Regions from separate parts of the Homo sapiens genome. Here regions 1 and 2 are each linked to region 3. Evidence: promoter capture Hi-C in human tissues and cell types (Jung and others, 2019). All regions are on one chromosome and are shown on one strand. Each heading gives the region's core, a stretch centred on a gene start or on the middle of the fragment in contact. The rest is flanking DNA. Distances are from core to core; before and after follow the strand shown. Region 1 overlaps CHST11 (carbohydrate sulfotransferase 11). Region 2 overlaps CHST11 (carbohydrate sulfotransferase 11). Region 3 holds the start of SLC41A2 (solute carrier family 41 member 2).

Region 1 (4,364 bases), core at 1,126-3,625, 340 kb after region 3:
GAAAATGCTGGAGTGAAGGTGAGAGGCGGGCATGGAGAGCCTAGGTTGCCTCCTCCTTGTTTCTTGTGAAAAGTGAAGGAACAACCCAATCTATGAAGAGAACTATTAATAACTCTGACTGTGGCTACCCAGGGGACCCTATCCTCTAGCCCCACAAATCCCCTTCACTCCAGGGACACCACCCAGGCTGGACAGGTTCTCCTTTTACAGGTACTGCGGTGACCTCTGTTTCTAAAGGCACCCGTTCAATGCCACATTTCTCTTCTCCCTGGGTTGAGTCATATGAAATTATGAGTATTTACTGCATCCAGAGAGACCGAGAGGCTGCACATCCATCTGGCCCACCTTGGGACTCCAGCTCCCTGCCACGGACTAGTACTCCACAGCTGCATAAACACGGCCTTTTATTTTCCAGGGTTTCTGGAAGCAGAAGCATGCTACCTTCCAAGAGAGGTCAGGGCCTCTTCTGGTGTCCCGTCTCAGCAATCTACACAAACTCTGGGACCACTCGTCCTTTGTGACCTAACCTACTTGAGGGTTGCTTCTTCTAGGGCCTCCCAGGCTCTAAGAAGGCTTGTCCAGTTAATGATTGTGCAGACCACCTGGGAGTCTGTTAAAAAGTTTCCTGGCCGGGCACAGTGGCTCATGCCTGTAATCCCAGCACTTTGGGAGGCCAAGGCAGGTGGATCATGAGGTCAGGAGATCAAGACCATCCTGGCCAATGTGGTGAAACCCTGCCTCTACTAAAAATACAAAAATTAGCCAGGCGTGGTGGTGTGCGCCTGTAGTCCCTGCTACTCAGCAGGCTGAGGCAGGAGAATCGCTTGAACCCGGGAGGCAGAGGTTGCAGTGAGCCAAGATTGCGCCACTGCACTCCAGACTAGGCGACAGAGTGAGACTCCGTCTCAAAAAAAAAAAAAAAATGTAGTTTCCCTTTGGCAGGCTGGGGTGGGGGCCAATTCTGTAATTCTAATAAGCTCCCAAGTGTGTCAGTGTTGCTGGTCCCTGGATCTGTCTTTGAGTAGGAAAAACCTAGAGAGGTGGTTCTCAAACTTGGTTGTTCATTGAGGGTTTATAGAAAATACTGATTGGGTGGACTGAGCATTGCAATTTTTTAAATTTCCTTTTTTGCTTCTAAAGTACAGCCAAAGCTGTGAACCCCTGCACTAAAAGATGGTGTTTCTTTTAGACATAGTGGATTTATAAGATGATGGCAGATTATCCGGCAGACGATGGAGTTCCATTGTCCAAGTGATCTTAGCCTCCACCTGCTCATTTGCTCCCAGGGACCATTTGCTCCTCTCTGCCTTTGTGCCTGAGTAACAATAACAACAGCAAATAGCAAACAGCCTTCACTTGGTGCCAGACACCTTTCTGAGCACTTCACATGTCCGGATTCATCAAATTCTCACAAAAGAGAATAAGGTAGGGGCTATTCTTTGATTTTTATTTTATTTTATTTTGAGACAGAGTCTTGCTCTGTCACCCAGGCTGCAGTGCAGTGGTGTGATCTTGGCTCACTGCAGCCTCCACTTCCCAGGTTCAAGCGATTCTCCTGCTTCAGCCTTTTGAGTAGCTGAGACTGCAGGTGCCCGCCACCACGCCTGGCTAATTTTTGTATTTTTGGCAGAGACGGGGTTTCCACCATGTTGGCCAGACTGGTCTTGAACTCCTGACTTCAAGTGATCTGCCCACCTCAGCCTCCCGAAGTGCTGGAATTACAAGCGTGAGCCACCGAGCCCGGCCAATTCTTATTCTCATTTTACAAGTGAGACAAGTGAGGCACAGAGCTGGTAAGAAGCTCTCCTACATCACACAGCCGGCAGGCGCTGGTGCTGGGATTTCAGCCCACGTGGGGCTAGTTCTAGAGCCTGTGCTCTTGACTACTTCTAGGCTGTGTGGCCTCAGACATTCATCTTTCTCTCAGAGCTTTTCTCCAAACACTGGATGGGACATGAGGCAGGAATCCAGGCAAGCACTGAGCTTGCCGAGTTCTCAAGAGCCAAGCTCTGCCTTGGCAGGATGTCTGTTATATCCATGGATATATCCGTGGATATTCCGTGAGAAACATGCTGGAGACAAAACAGATGGCCAGAGCGATTTCTCCAATACTCAAAACGACTGCCAGAACTGTGTATTTGCCATTTTGTGGCTTCAAGTCCCTGATTTAAGATGAAGAGAGGGGAATGTTGCAAGAGGCCATTTTAGGCAGCACTGGAGTTGGCCGGGGCGTCACACCCCTGTGGCACATTCCAAGGACGGTCAGCTTCGTTCTAGGGCTGCCCAATGTCTGCTATGGCCTGCGGCAGGCCCAATCTGTCAAGTGTCTCCCAGTGCGGTAATGCAGACATTGAACAACAGAGGATCAGCTAGAGATACAGGGGCTGTTGACTTTTCTAGAAGTCTGGAGCTACAGTGGAACTCAGGTTTCGTGCATCTTTGGCCTGCTTATCCTCTCTATCCAAGAAGAGGGGTGTGGATGGAGAACGCCTGCCCAGGAGGGACAAAGCTTCAGCCCCTCCAGTCAGTGCCTCTTCTCCTTTCTCCCCTCTCCCCTCTCCCATCTCCCCTCTCACCTTGGCCAGATTTTAACTGTGCAAGGGAGGGTGGAGTCACTTGTTCTTCCGTGTGCCACCCTCCTGTGTCTTTGCTCTGTCGGGATGACCAAGGCTCTACACACACACACACACACACACAAGCATGCATGCACACACACATGCATAAGCATGCATGCATACACACATGCACACACACACATACACATGCCTAGTCTAGGTCTATCTCTATGCTCCTCCAACGTCATGTATTAAACTCATATAGGACATCATTTTATAATTTTTTAAATTTTTTTAATCAAAAAAAAATCCAACCAGGCTGGAGAGCAGTGGCACAATCATAGCTCACTGTTGCCTTGAATTCCTGGGCTCAGGGGATCCTCCCGTCTCAGCCTCCCGAGTCAGCTGGAACAATTGGTGCACAACACCATGCCCAGCTAATTCTTAAATTTTTTGTAGAGACAGGATCTTGCCATCTGGCCCAGGCTGGTCTCAAACTCTTGTCATCCTCCCACCTCAGACTCCCAAAGTGTAGGGATTACAGGCATGAGCCACTGCGTCTGGCCAGGACCTCATTTTATAATGGTCAGTCAGTTTACTGGCTTGACACCCCAATTAGAGCACAAACTTCCCCAGACTTATTGAGGTTAATTTGGCAAATAAAAATTATATATATTCATGGTATACAACATGATGCTTAGATAGAGAGATAGATAGTGAAAGTGATGACCACAATCAAGCTAAGTAACACATCTATCACCTCACATAGTTATCATTTTTCGTGTAGTCAGAACATTTAAGATCTGCTTTCCTAGCAGATTTCAAGTCTACAATATATTATTATTAACCATAGTCATCAAGCTGTGCATTAGATCTCCAGAATTTATTCATTCTATCTAATGAAACTTTGTACCCCTTGACCAACATCTCCCTGTTTTCACCACCTCTGGTAACCATTCTGCTCTCTGCTTCTACCAGTTCAACCTTTTTAGATTCTACATATAAGTGAGATCATGCGGTATTTGTCTTTCTGTGCCTGGCTTATTTCACTTAGCATACTGTCCCTGTATTAGTCCATTCTTGCACTGCTATAAAGAACTACCTGAGACTGAGTAATTTACAAAGAAAAGAGGTTTCATTGGTTCCACAGGCTGTACAGGAAGCATGGCTGGGGAGGCCTCAGGAAAGTTACAATCATGGTAGAAGGCGAAGGGGAAGCAGGCACATCTTACATGGCCAGAGCAGGAGGAAGAGAGAGAAGGGGGAGGTGCTACACACTTTCAAACAACCAATTCCCATGAGAACTCACTCACTATCATGAGAACAGCAAGGGGGAAATCCACCCCATGATCCAATCACCTCCCACCAGGTCCCTCCTCCAACACTGGGGACTACAATTCGACATGAGATTTGGGGACGGGGGTGACACAAATCCAAACCATATCAGTCCCCCCAGGTTCACCCATGTTGTAACCAAGGGCTGAAAACTTCCCTCTTTTTTAAGGCTAAATAACATTCCTTTTATATGTATCTATATATCTATATCTATCTATCTATCTATCTCACTCACATTTTCTTTATCCATTCATCCATTGATGGACATGTAAGTTGATTCTGTATCTTTTTTTTTTCTTTTTGAGACAGGGTCTCCCCAAGCTGGGGAGCAGTGGCATGATCATGGCTTACTGCAGCCTCAACCTGACCTCCCTCAGTCTCTCGGGTACCTGGGGCTACAGGCACGTGCCACCATGCCTGGCTAATTTTATTATATTTTTTGTAGAGACAGGGTTTTGCCATGTTGCCCAGGCT
Region 2 (4,034 bases), core at 675-3,174, 440 kb after region 3:
GAAGGGAAAAGGTGGAGGCCCAGAGAAGAAGAATGTTCACCTTAAAGGTCCCACCAGGGTAGACTCGAATACAATGGCAAATCTCTGAACCTTCCTTTGGATCTCCAAGTCATTCATCTACAAATATGTATTGAGCAACTTCACTGGGAGACAGGATACTGAGATCAACTATTATCCTTATCCTTATTATGATTACTATTTAATTAGGGCAGCTGGGGAAAAAAAGACATGTCTAATTAAGTGCTCAGATTCTCTAAATAGATTTTTTAAATCCACCATTAAGATTCAGAATATGTTCTATTCTTTCCCACCGGACTCACGTATTCCAAAGGAATATCAGACAGTCACCTTTAAAACAAATGGACCACAAGCCTCCAGGGTCAGAGAACAGAAGGGGTGGCTGCACACGCCACTGGCTGCAGACTGTCTGACTTCCTGAGCAGATACAAGCAAAGGCCAAGTGCCCTCAAGGGAATTCAAAAGCCCCTGCCATCCCCGCTCCCATGCTGTGAGCCTGGGACAGATTTAGCCTCCAGCCACAGAACACTTCACTGCACCAGCTTGATGCTCAGGGCTTATCCTGAACATGGCTAGGATCATGCCCCAGGAAGAAGATCCTATGAGTGAACAAAATTACGCCATCCTAAGAATCCCCTTCAAGAAGTGCTTTGCAATTTCAGATGCTGGAACAATCTATCCTATAGCAGACTGAGAGGTTTGTTTTTTTTTGTTTTGTTTTGTTTAAAAAAAAAGGTTACACAAGTGGCTAAGTAGCAGCAGCAGTGGTGCTCCTCCTGACCACCACCCATGTACTAACCCGCCCTTCTTACACTAACAACTGCTGCTCCTACTTAGCAAACTAATCACTAACCATTAGTCCTACTGCCTCTCACTGAATGCACCCATGTCCATTCCTTTAGGCTTATAAAGCATTTACTTCTCCATTAGCTTATGTGGCATGTAAGATCCTGAGAGATGAGCAGAGCAGGTGCCATTGGGCCCATTGGACAGATAAAGAAACTAATGCTCAGTAGTTCAGAGACTGTCCTGAAGCCTCCCCAGCTGATGAGCAGTGAACTGGTTTTGCTGCCTCATCCCTTACTGCCTGTAGCATGGGTGTGCAGAAAGACAACAGACAACTTTGATCAGTTCCGACGCCAGCAACTAGGAATGAAGCTAAGACATAAGGAACATGGAGCTCCTGCACCCCGTTCCCTGATGGAGTCCCAGTCCCTTGCACAGCTGTGCCTCCTAAATTAAACACACGCACTCTCCATAAGTAGTTTCCTAGGAAAACCAGACTACTGTCCTTTAGGAACCAACCCTGCACCTGCAGAAAAGCCTTCAACAAAACCAACTGTGAAGGCTTTGCCGAAACAGTTCTCAGAACAGCTGTCCTGGTCCTGCCACAGCACAGGAAATCATCCCATCTTGGCAAACCCCACTCAACCATGTTTCCATGCTGCAGCCTTAGAGGAATGAAAATATCAATCTGAGCCAAGCAAATCTAACAGGCTATCATGCAAAATGCTGGTGTCAAATCAAGCCTCAACCAGTAATTATCCATCAAGCAGGGCCATAATAACCGGCTCCCTGGGGTCACTTCGCTGGGAGGCAGGGAGGTGGTTACTAAAGAGGGAGTTGGAATTGGACAAGTGACAGCCTTAAGAGAAAGGCGTTCATCTCACTTTTCTAGATTCTTCTACAGGTTAGGGGGTTCTACCCAACCCTCTAACCAAACCTATCCCCACTGAGGTCAAAACCCATCCTGTGGCTGCCTCGAGGCATTTATGATGACGCACTGGGGCAGATCTCCATCTATCATGCTGTGCCCTCCTTTAAGTTTAAAGGAAGTTGGCTTTAGCTAATGGTCTGAAAGGTGCTTCCTTTACCAACTGCTGTCATTAAACTAGCAAACTATTAATTTAAACTCTTATGGTAAGGGGGTTTCCTGGAAATTCCTTAAAGGAAGTCTGTAATTGACAGTGTGGTTAAACATCATACAGACAGCACAAAAATCCTAATCAAATACAATTAGTGCAGGCTCAAGTCCCCTTGTAGACCAATAGCACTTTTGTTCATAAGAAGTACTGTGCCATACCCCTGTTTAGGGTTGGGACTATTATGGAGAAAGAAACACACACACACACACACACACACACACACACACCTCAAGAGTCCAGGCCTAGGCCTCAAAGTTCATCATGACATTTGCTCCAACTCTATAATCCGACTGAAGAGAAGAAAGAGTTAAAAAAAAAAAAAAAGAAAGAAAAAAAGAAAAAGAAAAGATTTTAAGAAAAAAATGGTTTCTATTAAAATGCATAACACCATCTTTCAAAGATGAAAGGACTTAGTAGAAACACCATAAACCTCAGAATTACACAGTAAATTGCTTCTTTTGTTTAAGGCAAATTAATATTGGATCACAGATAAAAAATAAATCCTCCCAACATCCCCAGCTAAAGGATGCTATATTCATTATGCAGCTTGGAAGACTGCATGTTGACTATTTTGTAGAAAATGAATGAAGGGTTGGTTATAATCACCTTCCCACTCAAATCCTGTCTCATTACCTGAAGTGTTTTTCCTGCAAAGTGACACACAAATGATTTTCTAGTCTTCGCTTTCTTCTCATAAGCCACCATATGCAGGGCGAGGGAAAGTCCGGGGTGTATTAACTATGCCAGTGAATCTGCCCGGGGTCCTTCAAAGTGCTTCCCAGAACACGGTGCACAGACATCGTATTTGCCTAGGTCTTTATCAGAGTCCAACTGAATCTGGCACAAAGGCAACTGACAACCTCTGAATATCCCTTACCGAGCCCATATAATTAGTGAAGGAAATACAGCATGATAACATGTGTATCATCCGAATCTTCCCTCCTTCCTACTCACGCGCTCCTGTCATACTTGCTAACTCAAAGGTGGTCTTTATTTTTATGTTTATTTTTTTGAGACAGGGTCTCGCTCTCTCACCCAGGCTGAAGTGCAGTGGCACAATCATGGCTCACTGCAGTCTTGAACTCCTGGGCTCAAGCAATCCTCCCGCCTCAGCCTCCCACGTAGCGGGGACTACAGGCACGTGCCACTGCGCCTGGCTAATTTTTTTATTTTTTTGTCAAGTAAGGGTCTCACTATGTTGCCCAGGCTGGTCTTGAGCTCCTGGGCCAAGCTCCCACCTCAGCTTCCTAAAGTGCTGGGATTACAGGCGTGAGCCACCATTTCTGGACTCAAAGGTGGTCTTGACTCAGAGGCGGGAACTTCTCACTGCCAAAGCGACCTTAGATCCAAAGTTATCCAGTACGATCCTCAGTGGGAAAAGGCACTGACATGCAGTAGGTATTCAAAAAGTGTTAGACACTACACAAAGAAAAGGGACCAATTATAAAATGTCTGGCTTCATTTCGCCAAGCTCATCAGGAGTCAGCTTAAGGAACACCACATCCTTGTCATTCACCTCTATCACTCCGATTCCACATTCCCACAGAGATGAAATTCTTCCTGAGGTCAGGTTCCCAGGTCGCTTTTGAGGCAAAATTTCTCTTCTAAGAATTTGGTACAGCCTCTGAAGTAGGGTGAGGGTGATGGCATCTAGAACTAGGGACTTCAGTGTGGCCAGAGGACACCCACCTCCACATCATCACCCGGGAGCTGGTTACAAATGCAGGATCAGACCCCAGGCCAGGCCTATGGAATCACAACCTGCAACTTAACTCCAACCCCAGGGAATTCCACATGCATCTAAGTGTGAGAAGCTCTGGTGTACAAGTGATGATTGCAAACAGGGGTCTGGAAGCCCCTACACCACCCCCTGGTTCTCCAGACATTAAAATTGACAAGCTTCAGAAGGAAGAGGGCACTGATGACCATAAAATGAGGCTGTCAACAGCTTGCTGCTCCCCTGTGTAGACAGACCAGGATTAAATCGGCTTCAAGACACCCATCCAAGCGCGGGTGCAATAAAAGGCTCTGAGGATGGAGCCCAGGCGCTGAACTTTGGGGTGCAGTTTTAATTTCGCTGGACAATTCTTG
Region 3 (3,991 bases), core at 436-2,935:
CTTAACATATCTCCAAAGTACACACTACTTTGCGGTACTGAATGAAGAATGTAAGTAGAAGGTTGCCTGCCACATGCCATGTAATGCTCTGAAGGACGGTAGAAACCACCAGCTCTCTCAGAAAAAAATGGTGGAAGAATTTTCAAAACCAAGACAGGCTGGCTTCTGTATATGCTTTGTGTAGAAATCTTGAAAGACTACACACTCAGGGGAGGAACACATATTGGGTGGAACTTCTGCCAAACTTTCAAGAGCAGCTACTTTCTAATGATCTGTAATTCAAAAAACAACCAGAACAAAAACCAGCTGGAAATGCAGTCAAAACACTGCTTTTCCATATTCCTTGCAATTATACTTTCATTTTTAGGTGGTGAGGAACACCAGGATGAGTCATTATAAAAAGCATGACTGCAGATGGCCAAGAGTGATACCGAAGCACCCTTCACCCTGAAGGTTAAGGTTAAAGCTCAAAGTCTGATCGCAAAGCATAAGGAAAAAAAAAAAGAACATGGATAAATGTATGCTGGTGTCCTTCAGCACCAGAAAAGCTGCTACTAAATCACTGGTGTGGCTTGGAATTGGTAGAAGCTTTGATTTGAGGAAAAGAGTATCATTAGCTGTGTAATTTTGAGTTGTTGTTTTAGAGACAAGGTCTCATTTTGTGGCCCAGACTGGAGTGCAGTGATGCGATCATAGCCCGCTGCAGCCTTGAACTCCTGGGCTCAGGCGATCCTCCCACCTCAGTCTCCTAGCCACTCCAGGTCTCGCTGTGTTTGCCCAGGCTGGTCTCAAATTCCTGGCCTCAAGCGATCCTCTCGCCTGGTCCTCCCGAAGTGTTGAGGTTACACGCATGAGCCACCAATCCTGGCATTATGGCATTAGCTGTGTAATTTTTAAAATAACTGTCTTCGGACCAACACCTTTCTTTTGTTCACTGGAGTATCCCTGGGGTGTGTCTCATTCCCTGAATCATACACAGTAGATGCTCAATAGTTTTGTAAATAAAATAAATGAGCTCTCGGATTTACATGCAGACTTTGGATCAGTTTGATCTAGGTTTAAAAGCAAGTGTGGGGAAACTTGAAAAGCCTGGCACCCCAGCCAACTCTTCAGCGCCCCATGCGCTTGGCGCCTACACCTGCCTGGCACGGGGAGGGTGCTATGGGGCTGCCCTAAACCTCACCCCCTCCTGCGGTGGTTCCTGCCCGTCTCGGCTCCTGCACCGCCCACACTATGCGCTGCTGGGCCGAAAGACACGTGGTTCGGTTTTAACTCCAGTCTGCAAGAAACATGACCTCAGCCAAAAAGAGGCCGCTGGTCTGAGAAGAGAAATCATGAGTCATGGATTCGGGGGTTCGGACCTTGGAGCAGGCGGTGAAGTGGGCGTGCGTGGGCTGGTGGGGAAGAGGGATGCCGAAGGAGGCCACAGCCCTTCTCTCCTGGGCAGGCTCCCCAGAAAACTGCCCCCTTGCCGTCATCCAGCGCCCCCGTTCCCGACAGCTGTCTGCCAGGGCGCGGCCGGGGTCCGGGCGGGGCGGTGCTGTCGCTCCGGGTCGCCGCCCCGCGGGCCACATCACCAAGGCCCGGGCTTCCCCGGCGGCGGCGCGGCTGCGCTTGCGCGGGGCTGCCGCGCGGGGGCGGGGCGGCGGGGAGTCAGGGGGCCGCGGGCGCCGACGGCCGGGCTGTCAGCTTGGGGCCGCAGCCGCGCGAGGAGGCGCGGGAGCAGGAAGGAGCTGTGGGCTGGGAGCCGCTGTCCTCCCCGCCACCACCGGTGCCGGGCACCAGGTGAATGCCCCTTCCATCCCCCGCCCCTGGTGTCTCGGTCTGGTCTGAGGAGACGGGGACCCTTCTCACACCGGCCGCTGCCGCCGCCGCGCTCCGGAACAGGTGACCATGGAGGGGAAGTCTCGGCTTCGGCCGCGGCGCCGCGTTCGGGCGCATCAGGTGCGGGAGGGAGGTGGGGCCGAGAGGCCTGGGCTCGGGACCCGGCGGCGGGGGCGCGGGGAGCAGAGGGAGCGGCCCCGCCCGAGCAGCCGTGCCCCCTGCGGACGCCTCTCCGGGCCGCCGGGCAGCGCCCGAGCCCAGGCCCCCGCGCCTGCCCCACCTCGGGCTGAGGGAAGCTGTTCCGCGGCCACCGCGGACAAGCGGTCCCGGGCGCCCAAGGCAGGGACAGGCGGCGGGTGGTGTATGAGTGATGGCTGAAGGTGAGCTGGGATGGAGATGCTGCGAGGCTGGCTCGGGCACACCCCAGATGCCTGTTCAGGGCTCCGCGAGTGCCCCGTCACCCTTTTCTTTCATTCTTCTCTTTATATACACGGAGCATATCTCAAATTTAAAAGCCCAAATGCTCATTTACAGAGAGAGATGACACATATCTATGTGTTACCGATATACATTGATGTGTATATTACGTATATATGTCATCTTTTTTTTGTAGTGACAATTTTTAAATTGAGATATACATCACATGCCATAAAACTCATTCTTCTAAAGTGTGGCTTTTAATATATTCACAGAGTTTTCCAAATATGACCACTATCCAGATCATCATCCCCAAAAGAAACCCTGTCTCTCTTAGTAATCACTCCTCATTTCCCCTTGACCCCACCCCACTAGCCACCACTAATCTACTTTCTGTTTATATGGGTTTGCCTGTTGTGGAAATCTCATATAAATGGAAGCGTACAATATGTGGCTTTTTGTGTCTGGCGTCGAAAGACATACTGTAATGTTTTCAAGTTTCACTCATGTAGTATGTATCAGTACTTTACTTTTTATAGCATATTAATATTGTTGTATCAGTGTACCACATTTGTTTATTCATCAGTTGATGTACATTTGGGTTGTTTCCAGTTTTTGGCCATTGTGTGTAATGCTGCTATGCACATTTGTTTACACGTTTTTGTGGACATGTGTTTTCAGTGCTCTTGGGTATATACCTAGGAGGGCAATTGCTCCGTGTTTCACTTTTTGAGGAACTGCCAAGCAAAGCAGCTGTACCATTTTACTTTCCCACTAAGCAGTGTATGAGGGTTCCGATTTCTTCACATCTTCCCCAAGGCTTGTTACTTTTTTACTGGTTATTTTTTATGATAGCCATCGTAGTGAGTGTGGAATGGTATCTCTTTGTGGTTTTGATTTGCATTTCTCTAATGATTGGGGATGCTGAGCATCTTTTCATGTGCTTATTGGCCATTCATATATTTTCTTTGGAGAAAATGTTCATATCTTTTACCCATATTTTAATTGGGTTGCTTGGCTTTTTATTTTTATTTATTTATTTATTTATTTATTTGGAGACTGACTCTCAGTCTGTCACCCAGGCTGGAGTGCAGTGGCACAATCTTGGCTCACTGCAACCTCCACCTCCGGGGTTCAAGCGATTCTCCTGCCTCAGCCTCCCAAGTAGCTGGGACTACAGGCACACACCACTATGCCCGGCTAATTTTTGTATTTTTAGTAGAGACGTGGTTTCACCATGTTGGCCAGGTTGGTCTCCAACTCCTGAATTCAAGTGATCTGCCCACCTCGGCTTCCCAAAGTGCTGGGATTACAGGCATAAGCCACCACGGCCAGTCTGGGTTGCTTAGCTTTTTATTGAGTTTTATTGTTCATTTATGGAAAAAAATTTCTGTTAATAGGTTTGGATACTGGCACTGACTTGAAAAAATCCAACCAATCTGATACCGAAAAACTTAATGCTTATTCTTGGGTAAAGGTTGAATAAGTGCCACTTCATTCTTTAAGAATACCCTACCTGTTCATTCTGGACATCTTACTGACCCCTTTACATTTACTGCCCTGGTATTTTGAGCAAAGCTACAGAAGGCATATTCCTGACTGGAGTCAAGAGAGACCACCCTTAATTGGTATTTTCATATATTCTATGCTCAATTTGAAAATCCCAGTTATCACTTTAATTACAAAAAATTTATATTAGTGGCCAGCTGAACAAACTAACAATAAATGGCAAGCACAAATCACTCAAAAA

The links. Contacts are between HindIII fragments. The study calls those that stand out against the background at their distance.
Region 1: a fragment that was not itself captured here is called in contact with the fragment with the promoter of SLC41A2 in region 3 in 1 of the 25 tissues and cell types used here (mesenchymal stem cells).
Region 2: a contact is called between a fragment that was not itself captured here and the fragment with the promoter of SLC41A2 in region 3, in 1 of the 25 tissues and cell types used here (spleen).

The regions. Positions count from the first base shown.
Region 1 is chr12:104,613,027-104,617,390 of GRCh38, reverse strand. All of the region lies in intron 2 of CHST11 (carbohydrate sulfotransferase 11), which reads right to left. Among named protein-coding and RNA genes, the nearest start is that of MIR3922, 24 kb to the right of the region's middle. The HindIII fragment of the contact is 4,840 bases long and covers 1-4,364 here.
Region 2 is chr12:104,517,208-104,521,241 of GRCh38, reverse strand. All of the region lies in intron 1 of CHST11 (carbohydrate sulfotransferase 11), which reads right to left. Among named protein-coding and RNA genes, the nearest start is that of CHST11, 62 kb to the right of the region's middle. RefSeq lists an enhancer at 743-792. The HindIII fragment of the contact is 9,493 bases long and covers 1-4,034 here.
Region 3 is chr12:104,955,984-104,959,974 of GRCh38, reverse strand. It overlaps SLC41A2 (solute carrier family 41 member 2), which reads left to right and starts at 1,685. Exons shown (of 11, transcript NM_001352171.3): 1 at 1,685-1,887. RefSeq lists silencers at 1,507-1,776, 1,967-2,296. The HindIII fragment of the contact is 10,569 bases long and covers 295-3,991 here.